4 separate regions of the Homo sapiens genome follow, and regions 1, 2 and 4 are each linked to region 3. The links are contacts of gene promoters, found by promoter capture Hi-C in blood cells and fetal thymus (Javierre and others, 2016). All regions are on one chromosome and are shown on one strand. Each heading gives the region's core, a stretch centred on a gene start or on the middle of the fragment in contact. The rest is flanking DNA. Distances are from core to core; before and after follow the strand shown. Region 1 holds the start of CABLES2 (Cdk5 and Abl enzyme substrate 2). Region 2 holds the start of TCFL5 (transcription factor like 5). Region 3 holds the start of SLCO4A1 (solute carrier organic anion transporter family member 4A1). Region 4 overlaps OGFR (opioid growth factor receptor).

Region 1 (2,700 bases), core at 110-2,609, 240 kb after region 3:
AGCCCCCAGGCACACAAGTCAGCACCCCATTCTGTGGATCCAGAATCCGCAGCCACCCCTCTGCTATGCCACCCAGCCCCGCGTTCTCCTAGACAGGACAGCTGCCCACCTTCCCCTAGGCCTGGCAGAGGCCTTGGAGGCCAACTTGGAAGGGCGGAGGGAAAGGAAATGGAGGTGCTGCATGCTGCGTGAGCCCCAATGGTGGCCCGTGAAGGCCCACAGGAGGGAGCAGGCAGGCGGGAGGTGGGTAGGGGCCTGAAGGGCAGGGGCCCATGCTAGGGGTGGTGATGAAGACCCTGTCTTGCCCACTCGCCCACTGCCTTGTTGGCCATCATGCTGCCTCCCCACACACCAGGTGCTCCTAGGGCCAGCGCTGTGCCTGTCGGTCCCACCGGGTCCCCAGCACCCAGCACAGGAGAGGCTGGGCGCATGCGGGCAGGTGCGAGGTACTGCAGCGCATTCGCGGACTGACCACTGCATGTGCCTGGCCTCCGGCCACAGCCCGACCCCCTCACTGAGCCAGTTTCATCCTGACAGTACCCTGAGGCTGAAATCATTGTCCCCTCTTTAAAGATACGTAAACCCATGAAAGAAAGCTGGACAGAGCAGGCAGGTGACACAGAGGTGGGTGCAAGGTCCTGAGTCCCTCCACAAAGATACAGCGGGTTCCCCTCCAGACTGCAGACAGGCTCCCGGGCTCCAGAGGCAGGCCCTGACCATCCCGGTGCCACGGGCTCACAGGTTCTGAAGTCAGGGGCACCCAGGCACAGAGAGGAAACAGGCCTGGGCACAAGGCAGGCTCAAGGTCACTTTGCTACTGCAGGAAGTGCAGGACTCTGCCTGGGGCTTTGATCCCAAGCAGGTGCCTTCTCCACTCAGACCCTCGTTCCCTTCTGTCAATGAAGGAGGCCAGATGGCACGCGGGCCCTTCCGGGAAGCGGTGGGGCTCCTCCAGGGGCCGCCCTGCGCCCGCTGAAGCGCCGCCCAGACACACCTCCGGACAGGGAAGTGTGCTGGGGCCTCACCCACGCCGCCCTGGGTCCGGAGCCTTAAAATGTGCGCTCGATGGAGGCCATCCGCGAAGGCCGCCATACAGCAAAGGGAACAGAAAGCGAGAGCCCCGCGGCCGCAGGTCCCAAGACGGGGACTCGAACCGGCGGGGAGGCGCGCAGCTCCCGACTCCCTGCTGCTGCGTCCGACCGCCTCTAGGACCCAGGGGAGCGCCCTGAGCGCGGCACCTCGCTGGCCAATGGGAGAGCGCGACGGCGATACATTTGCATGTGGGCGCGCCGCGGCCAATGGGCGGCGGGCGCGCGGGCGCGCGGGCAGGGGGTGGGGCGCTTCGCGGCGGCGGGCGCAGTCTGAGGATGGCCGCGGCCGCGGCCGGTGGAGCCCCGGGCCCGGCCCCCGGCCCCGCCGGGCCCCCGCCACCCGCCGCGCCGACCTCGGCCGCTCGGGCCCCGCCGCAGGCGCTGCGGAGGCGCGGGGACTCGCGGCGCCGCCAGGCCGCGCTTTTCTTCCTCAACAACATCTCCCTGGACGGGCGGCCCCCGAGCCTGGGCCCGGGCGGAGAGAAGCCCCCGCCGCCGCCCGCCGAGGCCCGCGAACCGCCAGCGCCGCCGCCGCCGGAGCCCCCCACCGGGCTGCCCGCCAGGACCCCCGCGCCCCAGGGCCTGCTCAGCCCCACGCAGGTGCCCACCGGCCTCGGCCTGGATGGGCAGCGCCAGAGGTGAGTGGGGGCCCGGCCAGGTCAGCCCAGGACGCGGGGTACAGGGACGGGGACGGGGGCCGGATCAGCCCAGGACTAGGGGTCAGGATTACTTGGGGCCTCATCAGCCCAGGACAAGGGGGTCAGGTGACCTGGGGCCTTGTCAGCCCTGGACAGAGGCCAGGACAAAGGGGTTGGGTTCACCTGGGGCCTTGTCAGCCCTGGACAGAGGTTCAGGTGACCTGAGCCCCTGTCAACCCAGGACACAGGGGTCAGGGTCAGTCTGGGCCCTCATCAGCCCAGGACACAGGGGTTGGGTTCACCTGGGACCTTGTCAGTCCTGGATACAGAACTGGGGGTTCCTGGGCTGGCTGAGGGTTTCCTCAGGCCCTGTCACCCCCCACACATAGGGTTCATTGTCCCCTGAATTCTCCCAGCCCCTGAATACGGGGTCTGGATCTCCACGTTGTCAGTGCTCTGAAATGGGTTTTAGGGTTCAGCCCTTATTACCCCTGAGACCCCCAGCCCTGTGGGTTCTGGACATGCCCCCACCCCCATCCACTGGTACCAGTGCCCGGGACACAGGGACACATGGACAGCCCTGTGCATCTCTTCGCATTCTTTGAACCGGGCCACACCGTCCATGCCCACCTCCTCAGACCCAGCATGTGGGCCGGGGTCCTCCTGGCACTGTCACTGACACCTGTTCCCAGAGGCCCCTGCACAGCCACATCTCCCATCCCACAGCCACTGGTCTCTGGCACCCCTCCTCTCCCTGTCACTTCCCTGCTGAGCCCCGCCCTTCCCCACATCACTCTCAGCTCGGTATCTTTGGGTCTGTCACACCCTGGGTCTCCACTGCTCCCCCTGCCTTGATTCCATTTCTGGGAACCACCTCAGCCCATCCCAGGGCAACCCCAACCATGAGCCCTGCCTGTCCAGCGTGTGCCCCCTGCCCAGATGGCCCCTGGCTGCCCGACACCCTGTGTCCT
Region 2 (2,700 bases), core at 139-2,638, 220 kb before region 3:
CTTCAAATCACACTGCTTGAAGCGGCCCCACAGCTCACTGATGCTCTGCTCACTCTCTTAGCCTTCCCTCTCTGTTTTACGTTAGACGACTTCTGTTGCCATGTCCTTGAGAGTTTTAAGTCCTTGCTTTCCTCCTTGGTAGTGTTTTCTGAAACCTGATGTTTTGCCCAAAACTGATATATTATTTTCATGTATACATGTGTGAGTTTAGATTTGCATGGCTGAGCTTTCATAGCCCATCGTTGAATCATTGTAATATATTGGTCTGTGTCTAAACTGTGATGAAATGAGCGAAAGATTCAGACCCGGCTTAGAAGACGATGTGCAAGTCACAGGCCTTTAAGTGTCCTAATGCCTAGACAGAGAACAGACAACCACTGAGTGAGATGGGAATGTGGGTGAGAGGTTAAGTACAGGAATTATTTCAAGATTGCAAAAATAAGTCTCTTAAAGACCACATATTGCATAGTTCCCTTAACAGGGAAGGCCCAGCCTAGGCAAACTCCTGGACACAGAAGATTAGTGGCTGCAGGCGGGGGAGGGGCAGTGTGCTGACTGCTACAGGAGACCGGTGGTGAATGCAGCGGTGGAGGCGGGCCCAGCGCTGGGAATGTACCACCACCGTCGCGCTGTGCATTTTTTTTTTTTTTTTGAGATGAAGTCTGGCTCTGTTGCCCAGGCTGGAGTGCAGTGGCAAGATCTCGACTCACTGCAACCTCCGCCTCCCGGGTTCAAGCGATTCTCCTGCCTCAGCCTCCCGAGTAGCTGGGATTACAGGCACGCACTACCACGTCCAGCTAATTTTTGTATTTTTAGTAGAGACGGGGTTTCACCATGTTGGCCAGGCTGGTCTCGATCTCCTGACCTCCTGATCCACCTGCCTCGGCCTCCCAAAGTACTGGGATTACAGGCATGAGCCACAGAACCCGGCCATGCGCTGCGCATTTTACGCGGATGAAGCGGATGGCCTGGGCACTGTGGACTGTGGGTCCAGGGAGCTGTTTTGACAACGTCTTCATTCCTGCCGCTGTAATGGGGCGCACGTGCACGCACGGACGTGGCTTCTCCCCAGGGTGTCACCGCGTAGGTATCACGCTGATTCCAGCGCAGCCGCCCTCGCCGGGCCTCAGCGGGGAGTGGCCGGGCAGCAGGGGCGTGGCTGGGAACCGGGCGTGGCCTGAGCTGGGGGCGTGGCCTAGCTGTGGGGGCGTGGCTGGGCCGTGGGGGCGGGCCCTCCGCGCAAGCATCCGCCGACGTGGGGCGGGGCCGGGCGTGCGGGCGGTTGGGCGGGGGCGGGGCCGGCGGCGGCGGGTAACGGAGGGGGCGGGGCTGGCGCAGGGGTGGGGTTGCCGTTGCGGGGCGGGGCGGCGCAGGCGCTGTGCGCGGCACTCAGCGGTTTTCCCTCCCCCAACGGCGCGCCGGCTGTGGCCGGCGCAGAGTAGTGCTCGGGCCGGGGGTCGCCTCCCGCCTCCCGCCTCCCGCCTCCCGCCGCCCGCCGCCCGCGTCGCCCTCGCCGCCGTTGGGCCGCGCCGCGCCGCCATGTCGGGCCCCGGACCGCGGGAGCCGCCGCCGGAGGCAGGCGCGGCAGGCGGCGAGGCGGCCGTCGAGGGCGCGGGCGGCGGGGACGCGGCGCTGGGCGAGCCGGGGCTGAGCTTCACGACCACCGACCTGAGCCTGGTGGAGATGACGGAGGTGGAGTACACGCAGCTGCAGCACATCCTCTGCTCGCACATGGAGGCGGCGGCTGACGGCGAGCTCGAGACGCGCCTCAACTCGGCGCTGCTGGCGGCGGCGGGCCCGGGCGCAGGCGCGGGCGGCTTCGCGGCGGGCGGTCAGGGGGGCGCGGCGCCCGTGTACCCCGTGCTGTGCCCGTCCGCGCTGGCGGCCGACGCGCCCTGCCTGGGCCACATCGACTTCCAGGAGCTGCGCATGATGCTGCTAAGCGAGGCGGGCGCGGCGGAGAAGACGTCGGGCGGCGGGGACGGAGCGAGGGCCCGGGCCGACGGCGCCGCCAAGGAGGGCGCGGGCGCGGCTGCGGCTGCGGCTGGACCCGACGGCGCGCCCGAGGCCCGGGCCAAGCCGGCCGTGCGCGTCCGCCTGGAGGACCGCTTCAACAGCATCCCCGCCGAGCCGCCGCCCGCGCCGCGCGGCCCCGAGCCCCCCGAGCCGGGCGGGGCGCTCAACAAGTGCGTGCCCGGCGGCCGGGGGCTGGCGGGGCCCGGGTGGAGGCCGAGGCCGGGGCCGGGGCCGGGGCGGAGGCAAAGGGGGCCCTCGCTGTGCACGCCCCCAGCCTGCCCTCCCGGCGGCACAGGGCGCGGACCTCACCGGGTCTGGGGCCGCCCCGAAAGGCTGTGTGCGCTGTGCGGGCCCCGGGGAGCAGGTACTTCCAGAAACTAAACACCCCCTCCCTCAGTGGCCCCGCCTGGAGTGGGGCCGAGCGCGCAGAATTCCTGGGAACCATGTGCTCCGGGTGGCACTCTTGGATGTCAGGGAAGCCTAGGAAGGCCCGACGGGGGTTTGCAGGCTTTGAGCTCTAAAATGAGGCTCCAGCCTGCAGCCGCCCCCTTGGCGACCCTCAGGGATGGCTGTGGAAGGGGCTGCGTCCGCAGTTTTCTGCTCATCCCAGCCTGTAGTTGCCCATCGTGGTCACACTGGAGGATGGCAAAAGTGAGATTGGTGTCAGGATGTGATGAGAGCAGG
Region 3 (2,700 bases), core at 199-2,698:
GGCCTAGAGTCAATCACTTAACCTCTTGGTGCCTCAGTTTACTCATCTATAAAGTGGGAGTGATAATGGCCACCTCGTGGGGTTGCTAGGGACTGAATGAGACGATGCTCAAAGCAGGGGTACCATGCCCGGCACATTCCAGCACTCAACACCTAACCCCTGCTGTCACTGTCCTTGTCATTATTACCAGATTCACAAGCGGAGCCGGCTAAGGCCAAGGAGCTGTCCTCTGAGATCCATTTGCTCCCGCTGCTGGGAATGAAAACGTCGCTGACACCGGGCTCTGCAGAGCCAGTTTCTGATTAGATGGAGGTAACCCAAGTTCCAAAAACCACAGCTGAGGAGCAGCAGCTGACAAGCTGGTTGCATGGATGTGGAAAACTACCGCGTTCCAGCCGCCTCCAGACAGAAACAGGACGCATAGCCAGGTCCCACGGCAGCTCCAAAGAGGGCCTTGCACGCCAAGCGGGGCACCCCCCAGCCTGAGGGTTCACCAACCACGCGGACCACGCGGAAACCTAGCTGGGCTTCTCTCTCCCCTCGGGGCGCCAGTGCGGGAGGCGGTTTCTCCCTTGGAAGTGGAAGTCAGATCTGCTTCCAGGTTCCCGGTCTAGGGCCGGTCTAGGGCAGCTAAGCCTGCCTGCTCCTTCCTTTCCATCCTCCCTGGTCAGGGGAGCCCAACAGCAACGCGAGGGCACCCGACCCTCTGCCTGCACCTGGAGGGCGCCCGGGTCCCCCCAAGCCACGGCCAGGACGTCGCGTGGTGGGGCAGGGAAAGGGGCGCCGCCGCTGCTGGAAACTAGCCCTGTGCGCTCCGCCCGCGCTCCCCTCCCGGAGATGTCTCGAGCGCCTCTGGCGCGAACAAAGCCCGGCCGCCCCCGAGAAACTTCCGTGCATGAAGGTTTCCTCCTTGACTCGGCAGCAGCGGCCGCCGCAGGTGGGTGACTCCGCAACTCTGGAGCTCCGCGGAGGCGCGTTCGTCCCCAGCTGGATCTGTGGGGCCTGCGCCTGCGCGCGCTCCGGGCCACCTGCCCAGGTCACCTGCCCCGGCCACTCCGACAGTCCCTGCCAGGGCCGCAGCCCCTGCTCACCCGCTTCCCCCCGGCACCCGCTGCAGCGTGGGGCCCCTTCGCCTCGGTCCTCCTGCGGGCGACTCGGGAGCTCCTACCTGCGCAGCCGGCGGCGGGAAGCGGCGAATTTGGCCTCCGATTCCGCTCGGTCCTGCCCTCCCCCGCGGAGAGGCTCGGGGCGCTCGGCCGGTGCCCAGGCCTCCCGCCCCCGCGCGCATCCCCCCGGCGCTCCAGCCCCTGCCCACGATGGCGGCACCTGCCGCGCTCCTACGCCAGCAGGTCGGGCCCTGTGCACCCGCGCCAGCTCCCCGCTCCCCGCGCACTCACCGTCCCCGTCTCGAGGGCCCGGCCGCCGCGCCGCGCAGCGCTCCACGCTCTGGCCTCCCCGGCAGCCACGCGCCGCTTCATTCATCCGCTGGGGCCGCCCCCGCCGCAGAGGGAGGGGCGGGGTTTCCTGCGCGGGGCCCGCCTCACCCCCCACGGCCAATGGCAGCGGCGACCGCCCCCTCCTCCCCCCCAGGGCACAGAGGCGGGAACGCGCGGCGGGGGACCAGGGCGTCTCTCTCCGGAGCGCTGCCGCCTCCTGGACTCCCCGCTCCAGCTCCAAGGACCGGCATCGCTGCCGCAGCCGGGAGGCCGAGAACGCGCGGTGGCGACGCCGCCCCAGGCCACGCGGCGAGGCGGTTCCGAACGGACTCGGGATTCGCTCCTGGGCGCTGTGGGGCCGAGTGGAGCCAAGCGGCCGTTTTTCAGCTCCGCCCTTCCGAAAGGCTGCCGCAGGGTCGGGGCCACGTGGGGCCCGCGGCAGAGGGGCTGGGGGAACGCCACGGGCGGCCCTGGTGAAGGTGCCCGCCGGTCTCGGCCTGACCCCCAGGCCCTGTTCTGGCACGCGCCCCACCTGCGCGCACAGTGAGACCGGCGCCCTAGCCTGGGAATCCGGGGAATCTCCAGCCCGTTGCCTTTTCCATAACCCCGTCTTCTTTTTCACACTAGCTCTGAGGGTGGAAGGCAGGGAGGTGCCAGCCACGTTCCCTTCCACAGAGGGAACTCCCTGTTGGAATTCCTACCCCGGCTTCCTGCCGTCTGTCCTGGAACACATTGCTCCAGGCCTCCGAGCCTCAGTTTCCTCGTTTGCAAAATGGGGGCGATAACAGAGCGTCCTCAAAGGGGATAAGACGGAAGAAGTTGGCTCATATCAGGGCTCATAATTGTTGCCAAGTATTAACAGGTAACCACAATCACACTCCACAAAGCTTCCCTTTTAGTGTCAGTGAAATTAATTTAAAAGAAGTTTCCGAAAGTCAAGTGTGTGTGTGTGAATCCTGAGATAAGTCAGGTAAGGGGGGAAATGACCACCTCACGGCCCCAGGCTGGTGAGGAAGTCCTAGCCACGGAGGCGGTGCTGCAGGACCTGGCCTGGTGGCATAGCGTGGCGGGCGGGTTCACCGTGGAGAGACGAAGGAGGTGCTGCGGCTTGTGAGAAAAGGCCCACAACCCCATGCAGTTATTTATGAAATGGTTTTCCTTCCTCCAGGGCTTGGGGCTCCTGCCCACTCGTATCAGGTCCCGGGACCCCCCCGGTGGTGTCCTCAGGGCTCCCGCCGTCCCAGGCCGCCCTCCACTTCTGGAA
Region 4 (2,700 bases), core at 201-2,700, 170 kb before region 3:
AGGCCACTGGAGCCTGGAGGGACATCAGCTGTGACACCAGCCCTACCAGCCACCCAACAGGACCCCGGTCCATACCAAAGACTCAAAGTCAAATGAATTTATTCAGAAAAGGCCTTGCTTGGTATCAGACTAAGAAAAGCAGCCCTGCCCGCCGCCCCCCACTCCAGAAGGGTCAATTTACAAAGACAGGGGCGCAGGGGAGAGCTGGGTGGGGAAGACACAGCCAGGCCAGGAGGCTTCTGCAGGCCTTGGGCTTCCCTGAGGGCCTCGCGGCTTCTGGTGGCTGCTATAGTGGCCCCACAGGAGGCCAGCACTGTGGGTCATGGGTCACGGGTCACGAAGCAGAGCCTGAGGGGAGCCCGCAGCAGCTCCGGAGGCCCCAGCCCCTGCAGCAGGGACAGGAGGACCAAGACGCCGACGGGCACTCCTTTCCTTAAGGCTTCCCAGACTTGGCAGAAGACTCCACCTCTGCGTCCTGCAACTCTGCTGCCTCCCCCGCCTTGGCTGGCTCATCCCTTGTAGGTCCTGCCGGGCTGGGGCCTGGGGTCTCCGATGGGCTCTCGGCTGGCTCGTCCCCTGCAGGTCCTGCCGGGCGGGGGCCTGGGGTCTCCGATGGGCTCTCGGCTGGCTCGTCCCCTGCAGGTCCTGCCGGGCGGGGGCCTGGGGTCTCCGATGGGCTCTCGGCTGGCTCATCCCTTGTAGGTCCTGCCGGGCTGGGGCCTGGGGTCTCCGATGGGCTCTCGGCTGGCTCGTCCCCTGCAGGTCCTGCCGGGCGGGGGCCTGGGGTCTCCGATGGGCTCTCGGCTGGCTCGTCCCCTGCAGGTCCTGCTGGGCGGGGGCCTGGGGTCTCCGATGGGCTCTCGGCTGGCTCGTCCCCTGCAGGTCCTGCTGGGCTGGGGCCTGGGGTCTCCGATGGGCTCCCAGGGGTACCTTCTTTGGGCCCCGTTCGACCTTCTGTGTCCTCCTCAACCCCGTTCTCACTGTGTCCAGCCTTGGGGTGCCCCGATGGGGCAGGGGACCCGGCAAGGGCCAAGGTCTGGGCACCACCACTGGCCACCGCAGCACTGTCCCCAGCACCCTCATCCACCTTCCTCCGCTTCCTCACCTTGTCGGCCACCCTGGCTCCCAGGGGTTGGCGGCAGGGCTGCACTGCCTCCCCAGGGTCCTGACCGCCCACTTCCTGGGTCCCCGTCCTGAGGCTGCCCTGGCTGAGGGCACACCCCTCCAAATTCAGAGCGATCTTCTCCACCTCTGAGGCACTCTGAGGGCCTGGCTCTGTGGGCGGCTGCTCCCGCCGGCTCAGCTCCAGCTTCCTCTTCTTGCTCTCTTTGGGGCTTAAGGGCTCCGGCCTATCTTCCCCGTGGCCCCCTGCCTCATCCCCCTGGCTCCTCTCCAGGGGTCCCGCATCCTGGGGCTCCACGCTCCGTGGCTGGGGCCCCTCGTCCACCCTGCCCCCACCCTTGCTATGCTCTGGCCCACAGGTCCGACCCTGGGTGCTGGCCTCGTGGTCGGGGTCCCCGGGGCTTCCTTCCTCCTCCACCTTCCTGGAGCCCTCGAGCGGATGGGGCAGAGAGCTGGGCTTGAACCTCCGCAGCTTGTCTTGGGGCCCCCAGACGAACTTGCAGCGGGGCCGGAAGTGCTCCCAGGCGAAGTGCACCAGCTGGCGGCGCTGGTGTCGGCAGCGCACGGCGAACATGAAGTAGTCCAGGGCACTCTGCCGCACCCCCGGCAGCTCCCGCCGCACCAGCGTCTCCTCCAGGAAGAAGCGGACCAGCGGCGCCTGGAAGTGCTCGAGGCCCAGCTCACCCAGCGACTTGAGGATGCGTGTGATGCGGAGGTTGTTGTGGCTGCGCCTGCGAGAGATCCGGGTCAGGAGAGGTCAATGGCTGGGGCCCCTCCTGCTGGGCCGCACCCCGCCCTGGCCTGCCCTCCCACCCGGCTCCACGAGGTCTCCCCACCCTGGCCCACGATTCAGTCTCTCTCTCCATTTACCTCTCTGGGCCCAGGGGAGGACTCATGCCATCCCTGTGAAAATGGCCTGTGGGCCCTAGACACACGGGGGTTAGGGGGATGCTGACGCATCACCTAGAGGGTGGCTGTACCCCGAGTCCCCCTGGTGGGGAGGAGCTGGCTGGATGAGAGCCACAAGGGGCCCCTGCAGGGTACAGGCGCCTCGAACACCCTGTGAGAACTGGCTGTACCGCCTGCAGGTTCTCCATCACCCCTGCTTGCTTCTCTATGTGGACTGCCACCTCCTGGGTGCAGGAAGAGCATTCTTTACCTTCTCACCAACCCTATCGGGGAGGGACCGCCCGGCTCTACAGGCAGCAAGGAGGGGACTCAGGGCCTTGGTCCATTGCCCAAACAGCCCTGGAGTTCTCCGTCTGCAGCAGCGCTCTGTGACCTGCCCGAAACCTGACGTGGCCCTGTTCTGCGCCGGGGTGGGGGTGGGCGGGAGCAGCCGGGCCTCACCAGTTCAGGTTCTGGAAGCGCTTCTGGTAGTTCTGTGCTCGGCCCACCGTGCCCGTGCCTCGGTCCTCCAGCCGGATCCCGTAGAAGCCCAGCATGAGCTCGTAGGCCCGGACAAGCCGCTCCTGGATCTCCTGGGAGCTTTTAAACACCTGGAAAAGACCCCCTTGGAGAGCTCAGGCACCATCCCTGAAGCCCCGGTTCCTGAGTGTGGGGGTGGCCGTGGGTCCC

What was found. The method cuts DNA at HindIII sites, captures the fragments that hold promoters and counts their contacts. A CHiCAGO score of 5 or more calls a contact.
Region 1: a contact is called between the fragment with the promoter of CABLES2 here and the fragment with the promoter of SLCO4A1 in region 3, in 3 of 17 cell types (endothelial precursors, M0 macrophages and M1 macrophages). The highest score is 6.3, in endothelial precursors.
Region 2: a contact is called between the fragment with the promoter of TCFL5 here and the fragment with the promoter of SLCO4A1 in region 3, in 3 of 17 cell types (naive CD4 T cells, monocytes and non-activated CD4 T cells). The highest score is 5.9, in naive CD4 T cells.
Region 4: a fragment that was not itself captured here is called in contact with the fragment with the promoter of SLCO4A1 in region 3 in 9 of 17 cell types (naive CD4 T cells, total CD8 T cells, naive B cells and 6 more); the score reaches 8.6 in naive CD4 T cells.

What each region holds. Positions count from the first base shown.
Region 1 is chr20:62,405,944-62,408,643 of GRCh38, reverse strand. It overlaps CABLES2 (Cdk5 and Abl enzyme substrate 2), which reads left to right and starts at 1,359. Exons shown (of 10, transcript NM_031215.3): 1 at 1,359-1,729. The coding sequence starts at 1,368. LOC105372709 (a long non-coding RNA gene) reads left to right here and starts at 1,750. Exons shown (of 2, transcript XR_936967.3): 1 at 1,750-2,700. RefSeq lists a silencer at 1,193-1,442. The HindIII fragment of the contact is 20,791 bases long and covers 1-2,700 here.
Region 2 is chr20:62,860,510-62,863,209 of GRCh38, reverse strand. It overlaps TCFL5 (transcription factor like 5), which reads left to right and starts at 1,388. Exons shown (of 6, transcript NM_006602.4): 1 at 1,388-2,186. The coding sequence starts at 1,540. LOC105372717 (a long non-coding RNA gene) reads right to left here and starts at 1,775. Exons shown (of 4, transcript XR_936989.4): 1 at 1,669-1,775. RefSeq lists silencers at 980-1,079, 1,130-1,319, 1,820-1,969 and an enhancer at 941-1,595. The HindIII fragment of the contact is 6,144 bases long and covers 1-2,700 here.
Region 3 is chr20:62,641,251-62,643,950 of GRCh38, reverse strand. It overlaps SLCO4A1 (solute carrier organic anion transporter family member 4A1), which reads right to left and starts at 1,448. Exons shown (of 12, transcript NM_016354.4): 1 at 1,398-1,448. It overlaps LOC124904949 (a long non-coding RNA gene), which reads left to right and starts at 1,614. Exons shown (of 2, transcript XR_007067711.1): 1 at 1,614-2,298; 2 at 2,605-2,700. RefSeq lists a silencer at 1,011-1,960. The HindIII fragment of the contact is 5,977 bases long and covers 1-2,325 here.
Region 4 is chr20:62,811,383-62,814,082 of GRCh38, reverse strand. It overlaps OGFR (opioid growth factor receptor), which reads right to left. Exons shown (of 7, transcript NM_007346.4): 6 at 2,473-2,621; 7 at 83-1,853. The coding sequence ends at 434. Among named protein-coding and RNA genes, the nearest start is that of COL9A3, 4.3 kb to the left of the region's middle. The HindIII fragment of the contact is 7,148 bases long and covers 1-2,700 here.